Regions from separate parts of the Homo sapiens genome. Here region 2 is linked to region 1. Evidence: promoter capture Hi-C in human tissues and cell types (Jung and others, 2019). All regions are on one chromosome and are shown on one strand. The core of a region is centred on a gene start or on the middle of the fragment in contact, and the rest is flanking DNA. Distances in the headings are between cores, read along the strand shown.

What was found. The method cuts DNA at HindIII sites, captures the fragments that hold promoters and counts their contacts. A contact is called where the count stands out against the background at its distance.
Region 2: a fragment that was not itself captured here is called in contact with the fragment with the promoter of ZNFX1 in region 1 in 6 of the 25 tissues and cell types used here (H1 embryonic stem cells, aorta, mesenchymal stem cells and 3 more).

Annotation. Positions count from the first base shown.
Region 1 is chr20:49,275,481-49,280,136 of GRCh38, forward strand. It overlaps ZNFX1 (zinc finger NFX1-type containing 1), which reads right to left and starts at 2,577. Exons shown (of 14, transcript NM_021035.3): 1 at 2,541-2,577; 2 at 299-407. The coding sequence starts at 359. ZFAS1 (ZNFX1 antisense RNA 1) reads left to right here and starts at 2,698. Exons shown (of 4, transcript NR_036658.2): 1 at 2,698-3,236; 2 at 3,624-3,728. SNORD12C (small nucleolar RNA, C/D box 12C) reads left to right here and starts at 3,465; the gene lies at 3,465-3,543. RefSeq lists enhancers at 1,752-1,811, 2,153-2,653, 2,654-3,154, 2,912-3,206, 3,082-3,281 and silencers at 2,352-2,581, 2,632-2,991. The HindIII fragment of the contact is 7,798 bases long and covers 1-4,145 here.
Region 2 is chr20:49,241,250-49,245,905 of GRCh38, forward strand. DDX27 (DEAD-box helicase 27) reads left to right here. Exons shown (of 21, transcript NM_017895.8): 17 at 644-738; 18 at 834-957; 19 at 1,345-1,432; 20 at 2,380-2,454; 21 at 2,567-2,824. The coding sequence ends at 2,585. It overlaps ZNFX1 (zinc finger NFX1-type containing 1), which reads right to left. Exons shown (of 14, transcript NM_021035.3): 14 at 4,651-4,656. Among named protein-coding and RNA genes, the nearest start is that of DDX27, 24 kb to the left of the region's middle. The HindIII fragment of the contact is 5,369 bases long and covers 1-4,656 here.

The sequences.
Region 1 (4,656 bases), core at 1,327-3,826:
AAGTAGCTGGGACTACAGGCACGCAGCACCAAGCCCGGCTAATTTATATATTTTTTTGTAGAGAAAGCCTATTGCCATGTTGCCCAGGCTGGTCTCAATCCCCTGGGCGTAAACAATCCTCCCGCCTCAGGCTCCCAAAATGCTAGGATTATAGGCTTGAGCCACTGCATCCAGCCATAGTCATTCTTTACTTGAGAGATGCAGACAATCTTAGGTAGGCCTGCTCATTTATAGAGAGCCCTATTTCCTTCTTTTATTACTAGAATTTCCTTCTCATTAGGTAGGAAACCTTGCTTACCTCTGTGGTTGGTATGGGAATTCCTGGGCCTGGCATCCAGATGAGGTCTTCTCTCCTCCATGTCTGAGTCACCTGAATTCCTTCACGTTACTTTCTGTTATCTGGAAAACTGCACATGTTGAGTTATCAGTGTCCTCGAAACATAGCATCTAGCAGCAAAAACCCAAACACCATCAAGCCAGTCCTTCTGCCTTTGTTAACATTTTAATGATTTGTTAACTAAGGGTTAAATACAGATTTTAATCTAGAGCACAAGTGCTCGACTCTGCAAATGCCCAATTATGATATAAAATATTAAATTCACAATTTAGCTGATTTCAAGAGATAGAATTCCCCTTTCTTTTACCCTGGCACTTTCTTGGGGTAGAGGGAATGTCATCAATTCCCATTCAAAACTGCTGTTTGGTTTATGCCTTTAGCCAAGTTACTTAATCAGTTGCTAGGTTTCATTTTCCTTTCCTAAGAAGCAGACAATATTGTTGCCAGGACAAAAAGGAGTACATTTTTGTTAATCCAAAACCATGTGCTCACCACCTTATCTGGCATTTACATATCTGCCACTTATATAGTACCCAATAGCTTGCAGTACCCTACAGTTTATAAATAATTAGTGAGCAGTTATCCCCTTAGCCTACTCTTTGGAATGGAGCCAAATGATTAAGCTCTCTGCTCTACTGAATCAAGAGAAAGAAATTACATGTTTCAATAACCAGGAGGTTTGGCAACTACGAGGTGCTGTTTCCTCAGGACCAGCTAGAAATCTGATATTCTTTCTTCCTCCTCATTCTTCTACCTTGGTGATTTTTGACACTGGTCCTGTAAGAGGAAGAGGAAGCCCCTTTAAGGGAGCTTCTCAACCCAACTCATACACATGGTGTGGGCTGGGGCTAAGGAAAGAGTGGGTGACTCAGAGTCCTCAGCAAAGGGATTTTTGAGACTGTCTTCACTGAGTTCTAAAATATTCATAATTGGAAACTGTGACTACATTTGGCATTATATGAGGGGCAGCTTTTTTCCTCATCTGAAAAAGGAGTCTCTTTTCTTCCCCCTGGGAATATCTCTGGTGAGTCCCCTCCCTCATCTTATCAAACCCAGCCCTCCTGGCGCAGGCTCAGTATTTAGAGTTTGTTTGTTTATTTTCAATTCTCCGAGGGGAAAATTCCTTCTTCCCCTTGTTGAAAAATGCTAAAATAGAAACTCCAGAAAATTTAAAAGAAACGGAAGAAAAGAAAAAAAGATGTTAAAAAAAAGGCAAGGGAAGGAAGGGAGGAGTAGACATGAACAGGAAATGCTGGGATCGAAAACAGACTGAAGTGTTTTTTTTTGGTGGGGGGAATCAAGGCCTAAAGGGCACGAAGAAGAAAATCAGTGATGATCAAGCTGGCCTGGAGTCAGAATGAGAGGGGCTAGTCATCACCAGAGTGGGACGCAGGAGGCTGAGGTCGGAGGCAGAGCTGGGTTTGGGGGAAGTCTCCAGGGTCCTGGGGAATCCCTGACCCAGGGAGCCCACGGTCCCTAATGGAAATGTTATGGGGTCAGGGAGCGCCAAGGCTGTGAGGTGGCGGGGTTATGGGGGCCTTGGGGAGAGGGTGGTAGCGAGCACCAGGGGGTGCTTGCTGAGGACGGAGGCGGCGGGGTGGGGGCAGGGAGCAGGCTGAAGGGGGTGCCGAGGTGCTCTGTAGAAGAGGGGGATTGATAAGGTGACAGGAGGTGAGGCCGGAGGAATGAGGGGGGTGCGAGTGGCAGAAGGGAGGGCACAGACAGGGGTAGGGGCAGAGGAGATCGAAGTGCTGAGGGCAGAAGCGGTGACGGTGTCGGGGGTGCTGGGGAGAGCGACGGGCCAGCTGAGGGGATGGGGACACTAAAGAGAGTACAGGGGAGCCGAAGGGGCGACGGGGCGCTGAGATGGGCCAGGGGCTGAGTGGGTGACGGGGCGCTGAGTAGGCGATGGAGGTCTGGGGTCTGAGGGGGAGACGGGGCGCTGAGAGGCGCTCTGAGTGGGTGCTGATGCCGCTGGGGGCCAAAGAGGTGACAAGGCTCTGAGTGGGTGATGGGGGTCTGGGGATTGAGGGGGCGACGGGGCGCTGAGGGGCCAGGGGCTCTGAGCGGGTGACGGGTGCGTTGGGGGCTTGAGAGGGTGACAGGTCTTACGGGCAGAGGCAGTGGCGGGTCGGCGCGGGCGCCGGGGTTCGCGGCGAGGCAAGGAAGAATCAGGGGCAGGGGCAGTTGCGGGGCCACTCACCCGGCTCCGGCGCGTCCTTTCACTGCCGCCGGCGAGTGCTGGGGCTTCGGCCCAGGCAGGTCGGTGGCCCCGCCCGGCGCCGCGCACTTTCGGTTTCCGTTCCCCGCAGACCCTGGGCGGAGCCGGGCGGGCGGCCCAGAGGAGGAGAAGGAGGAGGCGGGGGCCCAGGGTGGAGAGCACGAGGGCCTGGCCCAGGCACGGCCGGCGCCTCCGCCCTCGAGGAGGGCGTCACCTCAGCTCCCCCCGGCGGCGGAGCCGGCGGGCTCAGGCGGGCGCGGCTGAGGGGAGCGGACCGCGGGGGGCGGGAGATGACTGCGCCCAAGGCCTTTGCGGGCCTCAGCCGGCCCCAGAGGAAGGGGAACCCGTCGAGCGGTTTGGTGCGTGTGAAGCGCGACATGGCGAGGAAGCGGACAAGCCCGGGTGGCCCGGCGTGTAGAGGGAAGGGGGCGGGGCTAGACGCGGCCTGGACAACTACTAGAGCGCCTCGGGCTGTGCTGCTCGAGACTACATTTCCCAGAGCGACGCGCGCGGAGCGGGCGGGAAAGAGAGCGTTTCGGGTCCAGTGCGCAGGTGCGAAAGCCATCTTTGGTTATATAAGGGAGGTTCAGGAAGCCATTCGTTCTTTCGCGTCTGCGGTGCCCGGAGTGTGGTACTTCTCCTAGTTGCAGTCAGGCTTCATACGCTATTGTCCTGCCCGTAAGTTCCCGTTTTGTGTGTGGTGAGTGGAAACTCCATGTTCTTCGTTGGAGACCTCTGGTCCTCCCTTCCCTTCTTTGTGCCGTCGTCTCTGCGGCCAGCCCTAATCTCCTTCTCGTGGCTTCTCCGTCTCTGACCCCAAATAGGCCTTAAGGGCGTGGGAGAAATGAGTTTCTGGAGCTGGAAAAGCCACTGCCTTCTGCACGGGCCTGAGAAGCCCTTGGCTGGTGTAAATGATGACTTCACTTTTTTCCCCATCAGATCGACAATGCTGACGTCTTATATTTTGCCAGTTAGTTCTGATACATCGGCCTCAAAAGGCCCGGCCTTGTTCGTTTCTGACCGTGGGAAGATGGCGGTTAACGCCCTTTATTTGTTGGTTCACAGGTTAGAGCAGCCAGCGGGTACAGAATGGATTTTGGAAGAGGGAGTCACCACTGGACCTCCAAGGAAGCCACGTGCAGACATCTACAACCTTCGATCTCCTGACGAGTAAGTCTTTGTCTCCTATGGGTCTACTGTAGAAAACACGTGCTTTGAGAAGCTTTAGTTTTCTAGGAAAACGTGGGATTTAACAAAGCACTTTCTATCGAGCATTTATTAGGTATTTAAAAAAGTGTTCTGACGGCCGGGCGCTGTGGCTGACGCCTGTAACCCCAGCACTTGGGGAGGCCAAGGCAGATGGGTCACCTGAGGTCAAGATTTGGAGACCAGCCTGGCCAACATGGTGAAACCCTGACTCTATTAAAAATACAGAAATTAGCTGGGCGTGGTGGTACGCGCCTGTAATCCCAGCAACTCACAAGGCTGAGGCAGGAGAATTGCCCGAACCCGGGCGGCGGAGGTTGTAGTGAGTTGAGATTGCGCCACTGCCCTACAGTCGGGGCAACAGAGCCAGACTCCGTCTCAAAAAAAAAAAAAAAAGAAAAACATGTTCTGAATGTTTTATTCTCACAGTTCAAATATTGGAACTAGGTTTCTGGTGAAGAAACAGGTTTAAGAGAAATGCCTGAAGTGAAAGAACCTTGTTAGTGAAGAGGCGTTTAACATTTTAATGCCACTTAAACATATTTTTGGATTCCATTCTTCCTGTGTGTTGGGGCGCTTAAATTTCCAAGTGGAGGGATGATTTATTGACATATTTTGGAAAGCCAAATGTGTTTTTCTGTTGAACTAGCCACTCAAACCAGTGCCCGACTACATAACTAATATTTTTGCTAGAGTCCAGGAGTGAGGCGTTTACAAAGTCTGGGCTTCATGGGAACACATGTGAAGCTTATTGTTCCAGATTGTTCTTTTGTCAGGTAACTTGTGGTAACTTGTGTTAAAATGCAATCTCTTGGTACTTGTTCACTTCCCAACTCAGTAAATGCCAACTACTTCCTCAACTCTTCCAGCCACACTGGCTTCTATCATGGGC
Region 2 (4,656 bases), core at 1,300-3,799, 34 kb before region 1:
TGTCTATATTTGATGGGACAAAATAAGGGTGTATATAACTTAAATTTCTGATAAAAATAGAGTTATAACTGTATTGGTGGGTAAAGTAGTAAAGTGACCTAAATCTTCATCCTTCATAGCAGGAGGTTTGTAATGAGTATCTTAAGTGGATTGAGAAATAGTCAAAAAAGCATGTTATTTAGTGAGATGGAGGTAATCAGTGGAAGAAGTGCTTGCGGCTTTTCTTTTCTTTTTTTTTTTTGAGGCAGGGTCTCGCTCTGTCGCCCAGGCTGGAGTGCAGTGGCGCGATCTCAGCTCACTGCAGCCTCCCCTTCCTAAGTTCAAGCAATTCTCTCACCTCAGCCTCCCAAGTAGCTGGGATTACAGGTGCACCACCATGCCCAGCTAATTTTTGTATTTTTAGTAGTCGGGGTTTCACCATGTTGGCCATGCTGATCCCAAACTCCTGACCTCAGGTGATCCACCCACCTCAGCCTCCCAAAGTGCTGAGACTACAGGCACGAGCTACTGCACTCGGCCAAGAAGTGCTTGCCGCTTTTCATTTTAATCTGCTAACTTACCAATTGAAAACGTGCACTTCTTATCGTAAGCTTAAAAAAAGATAAAATCATCCCTGAAATCTTATGCTTTCTTCTCATCCCAGTTGCCAAAGCTCTGCAGGAATTTGACTTGGCCTTAAGAGGAAAGAAGAAAAGGAAGAAGTTTATGAAGGATGCCAAAAAAAAGGGGGAGATGACAGTGAGTGGCCTCCCTTTTGGAGTTTGGGCCCACTCGGTGGGGTGGGTCAGAGTGGCCTGGTGTGTTCCACACTCACACCTCCCCACTCCCCCTAGGCAGAGGAAAGGTCTCAGTTTGAAATCCTCAAGGCGCAGATGTTTGCTGAACGGCTAGCGAAGAGGAATCGCAGAGCCAAGCGGGCCCGAGCAATGCCCGAGGAGGAGCCAGTGAGAGGTCCTGGTAGGTGAATGGGGAGCCCAAAGGAGCTTGTACAAGGTTTTCCCTGAAACCTGTGCTTTGGGTCAGGGAGAAAATCTGAGGGATGATGACAGTAGCCCACATTATTTGAGTAATTAGTATGTACCAATGTGTACAGCTATCCCTCCACGGTCTAAGGGGCGCAGTGACCTTGTGGTTGTTGAGAACTAGGATTTGAACGCCAGCTTTTCTGACTCCGGAGCCTAAGGCCTCACCAGCTGCTACTTGGAGGAGCTGGTGAGGACAGAATGAAAATAGTCTTTGGATGCCAGAGTATCCACTGAACTTGGAATCATTACCTTGAACTTAAGGGGATTTAGGAGCTTGGGCCAAAGACAACCATATGTAACCCATTCTCTCTGTGCACAGCCAAGAAGCAAAAGCAGGGGAAGAAATCTGTATTTGATGAAGAACTCACCAACACAAGCAAGAAGGCCCTGAAACAGTATCGAGCTGGGTAGGATTTTAAGTCATCATGGAGCCCTTGGTATTCTTTTTTTTTTTTTTTTTTTTTTTGAGACGGAGTCTCGCTCTGTCGCCCAGGGTGGAGTGCAGTGGTGCATCTTAGCTCACTGCAAGCTCCACCTCCTGGGTTCAAGCAATTCTCCTGCCTCAGTCTCCCAAGAAGCTGGGACTATAGGCGCACGCCACCATGCCCAACTAATTTTTGTATTTTTAGTAGAGATGGGGTTTCACCATGTTTGCCAGGATGGTCTCGATCTCTTGACCTCCTGATCCACCCGCCTCAGCCTCCCAAAGTGCTGGGATTACAGGCTTGAGCCACCGTGCCCGGCGAGCCCTTGGTATTCTAATGGAAGCTATGAGTCTTCTGCCTCCTTCCCCATTTCCAGTTTTTGCACACCTATAGCTTTATACTATGTAAATTCAAGGGTACCTGTCTGTTCTCCACCCCCCACCCCTCTCAGAGCCACCTGAGGATCCCAAGGTGAGAACAGGAGAGGGGTGTTCAGTTAGCACTGTTCCTGCCTTGGAGGTGAAATAGTACATTGTTGGGTTCAGAAATGGAGCTTTCCTTCAGGGGAGTGATAACTCTTTCATCTCAAGTTCCATCCTGCAGAACCCCAGAGAATCCTGGCTTGCTCTTAGGAATATGTTGTCCCACACCATTTTCCCCAGCCCAAGGTTGGGGCAGGGGCAGACTAAGCTTCCCAAGTAGTGGTATATACCTAAGAAGGGCCTCTTCCAACCTTGTTTTAAAATTGGGCCCTGACTTCCAGAAACACGTTATCAGGTGGAAACACATAAAGGCTTAGAACTTAGGGCCTGAAAATGATGCATCCCAGAGATGCTACTGCTTCATGTAGGAGCTGGGGAGGGTGGGGGTGAGACAACACCCATTTGTTCAACAGTTTGCTCATTTCAGCATGTCATCTTCTCTCACAGCCCTTCCTTTGAAGAAAGGAAACAGTTGGGCTTGCCCCACCAGAGACGAGGAGGAAACTTTAAATCTAAATCCAGGTGATACTGGCTGTTTTGGAGGGGCATAGGTTTTGGGATTAGAGATAAAAACCTTTCATGGAAAAGAAGCTTCTCCATCCTCATTCTGGTCTTAACTCTGATTTTCTTACAGATACAAGAGGAGGAAGTAGCTGTCGTGGCCTGAAGAAATTCATGGGGGCAGCCCTTAAATCCCTTCCCTGTGGGAAGTCATCCTGGCTGGTCTGTCTTTTCTCCATTTGTTTAAAAAAAAAACAAAAACAAAAAACAACACTTTGGTGTGGTGGTATGGTACGTAGCTATTTTCCTAAGCATGTCTGTCAATCTCCCTTCTTGCTGATTAGCTTTCATATGACTATATTAAATGGAAGTATTTTTGGGAAAAGAGAAACCAATCCAAGTGTATATCTTATTACTATCTCTTCCTCAATGGCAAATGTGCCCACAGTCTACTAGCTTGGTATCACCACATACAGTTGGTATGCATAATCTTTATGCTTGTAGAGGAACAGGGTATGGAGTGAGGAAATTCTTGGTAGAAGTTCTCTTCTAGCCTGGGGAACATAACAAGACCCTGTCTCTTAAAAAAAAACAACAACAACAGAAAAGTTCTCTTCTGTTGATACTCTAGAACTAAGAGCTAAATGATAGCTGAAGAAGATAGCTAAATGATAACTCTTAGTTCTAAAACATCAACAGGGGAGAACTTTAGCATGAATGCCAACCATGCACCAGATATTCTGTGTGCTGAATAGAATCCAGTCAACTCACTGCACTCCTGTGAGGCAGGCAGTGATATCCTCATTTTCCAATAAACAGAGGCTTGGAAAGACTAACTTTCCAGAGTTGCACAGCTGGGAATTCAGGTTTTCAACCAACATCTACTTGAACCCTCACCTTACCTCTTGCTGCTGTGCTGTGGAAATGCTGCTGGAGAAATGGAAGCCCGAAAAGGACAGAAGGAGCCTTGACACCATAAATTAGTTACTTGCTGCAAAAACCAGAGTCTCTTGTCCTCCAGGCTGGAGTGCAATGACACGATCTTGGCTCATTGCAACCTCCACCTCCCGGGTTCAAGCGAATCTCCTGCCTCAGCCTCCCAAATACCGGTGATTACAGGTGCCCGCTACCATGCCTGGCTAATTTTTGTATTTTTAGGAGAGACAGGGTTTCACCATGTTGGCCAGGCTGGTCTTGAACTCCTGACCTCAGGTGATCCACCACCTCAGCCTCCCAAAGTGCTGGGATTACAGGCTTGAACCACTGTACCTGGCCAAAAACCAGTTTTGATCCTGTAAGAACGTCGGTTCTCATCCTTTTCTGACTCAGAATGAGATGAAAGCTGTGGGGCCCCACCTGGAAAACTGTATAGTTTGTTATAATTTCAGGGAGTACTTACCACCCTACCCCCAGCTTAAAAATTATAAGTTATCCAGTAGCACATACCCTAGATACTAAAGAGTGTGTTCAAAGCTATTCATTCAGGCTGCACCTAAGTCACCAACAGAGGGTCCAATTCAGAAAATGATGGCACAACTGTGTGATGGAGTACAGTTCAGACTACTGTCTTACTGGATTTTACAGAAAGTAGGTTATTAGGCTAAAAAAGCCAAGTGCAGAACTGTGTACTTTTTCTTTTCCTTTTCCTTTTTTTGAAGCAGGGTCTCACTCTTGCCCAGGCTGGAGTGCAGTGGCTTCACTGCTCACTGCAACCTCGACCTCCCCAGGCTCAGGTGATCCTCCTACCTCAGCCTTTGGAGTAGCTAGGACTACAAGTGCAAGCAACAACACCTGGCTTATTTTTGTATTTTTTTTTTTGTGGAGATGGTTTCGCCCTGTTGCCCAGGCTGGTCTTGAACTCCTGGGCTCAGGCCATCTGCCCAATGTGGCCTCCCAAAGTGCTGGGATTACAGATGTGAGCCACCATGCCTGGCCTAAGGGATGTGTATTGCATGTGCATAAGTTCTCTCTGGGAGGACTCAGGAAGTTAACAGGGTTTGCCTCTGGAGAAAGAAACTTCAGGTATACCCTTTTGTACAGGCTGAAAAAATGTTCTTTTTACCGTGGGTAAAAATGATTCATTCACCAGCTAAATAAAAATCCTGTATCACAAAAACAAAATCACAGCCTCACTGTAGACAGTGCCTTCCCTGTGCCCGTCTTCACTGTCTTTGGCTGAGTTGCTTCTGAAAATTGAGGATACACGTGGACCACTGATTTTCT